Linked DNA regions of Homo sapiens: region 2 is linked to region 1. Evidence: promoter capture Hi-C in 16 types of primary human blood cells and fetal thymus (Javierre and others, 2016). All regions are on one chromosome and are shown on one strand. The core of a region is centred on a gene start or on the middle of the fragment in contact, and the rest is flanking DNA. Distances in the headings are between cores, read along the strand shown. Region 1 holds the start of DPPA3 (developmental pluripotency associated 3). Region 2 has its middle 24 kb from the start of SLC2A3.

What was found. The method cuts DNA at HindIII sites, captures the fragments that hold promoters and counts their contacts. A CHiCAGO score of 5 or more calls a contact.
Region 2: a contact is called between a fragment that was not itself captured here and the fragment with the promoter of DPPA3 in region 1, in 1 of 17 cell types (M1 macrophages). The highest score is 5.5, in M1 macrophages.

Annotation. Positions count from the first base shown.
Region 1 is chr12:7,710,129-7,712,828 of GRCh38, forward strand. DPPA3 (developmental pluripotency associated 3) reads left to right here and starts at 1,305. Exons shown (of 4, transcript NM_199286.4): 1 at 1,305-1,524. The coding sequence starts at 1,443. The HindIII fragment of the contact is 13,723 bases long and covers 1-2,700 here.
Region 2 is chr12:7,910,935-7,913,732 of GRCh38, forward strand. No RefSeq gene overlaps it. Among named protein-coding and RNA genes, the nearest start is that of SLC2A3, 24 kb to the right of the region's middle. RefSeq lists an enhancer at 1,958-2,798. The HindIII fragment of the contact is 1,731 bases long and covers 535-2,265 here.

The DNA.
Region 1 (2,700 bases), core at 55-2,554:
GAGATTAGCCAAGAGCTGAACAACAGAAGTAGAAAGTTCACAGTGCCGTAAAGCAGGGCTGCTTAACTTGAGCACCCATCAGAATCACCTGGGGATCACTTCTGGGTCTTCTGGCTAAATGCAGAATTGCCTGGGAGGCTTGTTAAAGCATTACCACTGGGCGCCAGTCTTTGATTCAGTAGGGCTGGTTTGGAGCTCAGAATTTGTATATCTAAGTTAACTAGGTGCTTGTTGTAAACTGCACTTTTTTTTTTTTCCCAAGAGGCAGGGTCCTGCCCTGTCTACCAGGCTGGAGTGCAGTGGCACGATCATAGGTCACTGCAGCCTTTAACTGCTGGGTGATTAAGCGATCCTGGAGACCACACTTTTGAGAATCACTTGCATAAAGTGTTGGGACATGATCTATGCCTATGGCTGCTCATTCTCTATGAAAATATTTCTTAATCATAACTTCAATTTTTGCTTTTTACCAAACCCAAACAAGGTTGCCTTTGAGTATTTTCTCGTGGTTTCCACCTAGAGAGGGAATGGGGGAACGTGCGTATTTGAATAAGACGGGAAAAAGATGAGAGGGGCAGCTGGGGACTTGTTCTTCCACCTCCTGCAGACAATCAGTGGTTAAATGTTGTTGTGCTTTGCTACAAATACAAGCATTTTTTTGTGGGGAGGGAGTAGCAATTTGTAAGGTTAGTTAATTTCAGCTGCTCAGAAATGTTAGGTACTGTTTATAGTTTATAAAGCAAATTAACAAATAAAAAATACATGTCCCTAAAATATCAAGCTATGAAAGTGTTCATAACAGATACTTCTTCATTATTCCTCTCTTCTTAGTAGCAGCAAAGGTTTAAGATGATTGAAGCAAGGAAAACTTAAAGGAAACTTTCTCAGCTTAATTGGGAGTTTATGGGCAGTGGTGGTGGTGGGGCGGGGGCGGTAAAAACTGCCATTCTCCTCTGCACTAGAACACTTAAGCCCAGTTCACAAAACAGAAGCCATCTCCAGGAGTAGAGTTTGGGAAAAAAAAAAAAAAAAAAAAACAAGAAAAAAACAACTTATATGTAAGGCAACCTCAGGGAGACAGAACCACAAAAAGAGGATTTTAATAAATTTTCTAGCAGATATGACATCCGACAGATTATTTTAATGCAAAGCAGATGAAGAACTACCCTATGAGTCTAAACTACACCCATTCACCTTTAATCATTTGGATCCCTTAATCCTCTAATCATGGGATCATTAACATTCAAATATCCTGGAAGATTGGCTTATCTGTATTTTAAAAGGAAGCCGGACCTATAGTTTACGTCAGTTCTTTGACCATTCGTTGGAGCTCCGGTTTTCAGCCTCTTTCCGGGCTACCTGGTAGCAATTTGAGGCTCTGTCATCAGTTTCTGCTACGTTTCAAAGATCCTGGAGAAGCCTAGTGTTGTGTCAAGACGCCGATGGACCCATCACAGTTTAATCCAACCTACATCCCAGGGTCTCCACAAATGCTCACCGAAGAAAATTCCCGGGACGATTCAGGTAAGCCAGATAATGCCCTTCTTGACTATCTGACTATAGGGGGGTTGGGAGGTCAAAAGGCTGCCGTCTTTTTTTTTTTTTTTTTTTTTTTTTTTTTAATGTTGACTTCAGTCTTTGCAAGAGGAATGTATTTAGGTAAACCTCAAACCAGAGGGAGTCAACACAGAGAGGTCAAAGACTTTATTAAAAGCGGTGATGGTGGTGGTGAGAAATGTATTATTTTATTCACTATGCTTAGGAGTACTTCAGATTTCTTTCTTTTTTTTTCTTTTTTTTTTTTTGAGACGGAGTCTTGCTCTGTCGCCCAGGCTGGAGTGCAGTGGCGCGATCTCGGCTCACTCCAAGTTCCGCCTCCTGGGTTCACGCCATTCTCCTGCCTCAGCCTCCCAAGTAGCTGGGACTACAGGCGCCCGCCACCGCGCCCGTTTTTTTTTTTGTATTTTTGGTAGAGACGGGGTTTCACCGTGTTAGCCAGGGTGGTCTTGATCTCCTTACCTCGTGATCCGCCCGCCTCGGCCTCCCAAAGTACTGGGATTACAGGCTTGAGCCACTGCGCCCGGCCAGTACTTCAGATTTCTAAGACCAGTTTCTGGGGATAAATAATTGGAATCACAGAACGCGGCTCGTAGCGTCGTTGCATCAGTATCTTCCCCAACAGCAAATACATGTCAGGAACGGTAAAAAGGAACAAATACAGAGACCAAATAAACAAAAGATAGGGAAAAAAAATGAAACAATATGAGAAACTTTAACTTCAGTTGAACCTAAAGTTTTTCTTAATCTCTCGCCAACATTATTTTTATTTATATATTTTTTTGAGACGGAGTCTCTGTCGCCCGGGCTGGAGTGCAGTGGCGCGGTGTCGGCTCACTGCAACCTCCGCCTCTCGGGTTCAAGCAATTCTCCTGTCTCAGCCTCCAAAGTAGCTGGATTACAGGCATGTGCCACCACGCCCGGCTAATCTTTTGTATTTTTAGTAGAGACAGGGTTTCACTATGTTGGCCAGACTGGTCTCGATCTCCTGACGTCGTGATCCGCCCACCTCTGCCTCCCAAAGTGCTGGGATTACAGGCGTAAGCCAGCGCGCCCGTCCTATTTTTATTTTTATTTTTATTTTTGACAGTGGGTCTCTCCATGTTGCCCAGGCTGGTATCGAACACTTGGGTTCAGTCCATC
Region 2 (2,798 bases), core at 150-2,649, 200 kb after region 1:
TGGGGTAATGGAGAGAGAGGCACAATAGTTAAAGGGTCCAGAGTTTCTTTTCCGTTTTTTTTTTTTTGTTTTTGTTTTTGTTTGAGACAGAGTCTTGCTCTGTCAGCCAGACTGGAGTATAGTGGCATGATCTTAGCTCACTGCAACCTCCAACCTCCGTCTCCCAGGTTCAAGCGATTCTCCTGCCTCAGCCTCTGTAGCAGCTGGGACTACAGGCACGTGCCACCACACCTGGCTAATTTTTGTATTTGTGGTAGAGACAAGGTTTCACCATGTTTGCCAGGCTGGTCTCGAAATCCTGACCTCAAGTGATCCACCTGCCTCAGCCTCCCAAAATGCAGGGATTATAGGCATGAGCCGACGAGCCTGGCCAAGATGTATTATATTTTTTAATACATTGCTAGATATGATATTCTAATAATTTGTTTGCCTCTATATGAATCAATAAAATTGGTCTGCCTGAGACCCTGTCTCAAAAAAAAATTTTTAATAAATAAATAAAAATCTAATGTGATAATCTACTATTATTTGAAAAGCTTATCCCATTATATTTGTTATTGCTTATATAATTAGATTTTTTCCTATCATTCTATTATCTGCTTTCTACTTTGTAATGCTTTTTCTGTTTTCTCTTCCCAAACCCTTTTCTGTTCTTTTAAAGGTAGTTGGTTGTCTGGCCGGGCGTGGTGGCTCACCCCTATAATCCCAGCACTTTGGGAGGCCGAGACGGGTGGATCACCTGAGGTCGGGAGTTCGAGACCAGCCTAACCAACATGGAGAAACCCCGTCTCTACTAAAAATACAAAAAATTAACCAGGCGTGGTGGTGCATGCCTGTAATCCTAGCTACTTGGGAGGATGAGGCAGGAGAATCACTTGAACCCGGCAGGCAGAGGTTGTGGTGAGCCGAGATCGTGCCATTGCACTCCAGCCTGGGCAACAAGAGGGAGATTCCGTCTCAAAAAAAAAAAAGGTAGTTGGTTTGTGTGGTGTGTGTGTGTAATTCTAGCTACTCGAGAGGCTGAGGCGGGAGGATTGCTTGAGCCCAGGAATTCACGTCCAGCTTTGGCAACATAGCAAGATTCCATCTTTTAAAAAAAAAAAAAAAAATTGGTTGGTTTGTTTTTCTTTACGTAGTCTGTTTTTTTCCCCCATGTAAAATATTTGGAATTTATCATCTATAAGGCTTATTCATTTAATAGTGACTGGGTTCAAGCGATTCTACTGCCTCAGCCTCCTGAGTTGCTGGGATTACAGGCGTGCACCACCATGCTAGGCTAATTTTTGTATTTTTAGTAGAAACGGGGTTTCACTGTCTTGGCCAGGCTGATCTCGACCTCCTGACCTCTAGTGATCCACTCGCCTCAGCTTCCCAAAGTGCTGGGATTACAGACGTGAGACACCATGCCCATCCAAATTTTTGGATTTTGTTTTGTTTTGTTTTGTTTTTGGAAATGGAGTTTTGCTCTTGTTGCCCATGCTGGAGTGCAATGGCCTGATCTCAGCTCACTGCAACCTCTGCCTCCCGGGTACAAGTGATTCTCCTGCCTCAGCCTCCCGAGTAGCTGGGATTACAGGTATATGCCACCATGCTCGGCTAATTTTGTATTTTTAGTAGAGACAGGGTTTCACCATGTCGGTCAGGCTGGTCTCAAACTCCTGACCTCAAGTGATCCACCCACCTTGGCCTCCCAAAGTGCTGGTATTACAGGTGTGAGTCACTGTGCCCAGCCTTTTGTATTTTTAGTAGAGACAAGGTTTTGCCATGTTGTCCAGGATGGTCTCGAACTCCTGACATCAGGTGATCCACCCGCCTCAGCCTCCCAAAGTGCTTGGATTACAGACGTGAGCCACTGCGCCTGGCCTCTTATTTTATAATTGACTACTTTGAACTCTGAGTTGAACTGGCATTCCTCCAGAAAAGATTTACATTTGCTTCTCTCAGTTGTTTAGGACCTGTACTAATCTAGAACCGCTTTAAGTTATATTTTCTATTTGTAGATTTTTAGCCACACAGTTAGCATAAAATCAGACAACGACACTGCATGGGGACCAATGTGTAGTTAAGAATTCTTGGCGAGATTTTTTTTTCCTCCTCTGTCCAGCACCAAGGTGAAAAAGCAAAAGAGGACTGCTGTCTTCTTCTGAACCATGGTTTGATCTCTTGTTCATCCTTTATGCAGAGATCTCCTTTTAGACTACCTAGACTTTATCTTGGGCCTCCACACTCCATGAAGCCTTCCTGGGAAAAGTCCAATATCAATGAAGCTTCCCAAATCTATGAAGAAGGAAAAAGCTACAATTTTGTTGTTGTTGTTGTTGTTGTTTTTTGAGACGGAGTCTCGCTTTGTCGCCCAGGCTGGAGTGCAGTGGCACAATCTCGGCTCGCTGCAAGCTCCTCCTCCCAGGTTCACACCATTCTCCTGCCTCAGCCTCCCGAGTAGCTGGGACTACAGGCGCCTGCCACCATGCCCCGCTAATTTTTTGTATTTTTAGTAGAGACGGGGTTTCACCATGTTAGCCAGGATGGTCTCGATCTCCTGACCTCGTGATCCGCCCGCCTCGGCCTCCCAAAGTGCTGGGATTACAGGCATGAGCCACTGCGCCTGGCCAAAAGCTACAATGTTTTAAAAAGAGAGATGATTGAGAATTTTCTAAATATTTGTTGTGTGTACTTACGCTTTTAAAAGTAGAATATAATCACGGCAAAATGTTTATTTTATTTTTGATACAGAGTTTCGCTCTTGTTGCCCAGGCTGGAGTGTAATGGCACTATCTTGGCTCACCGTAACCTCTGCC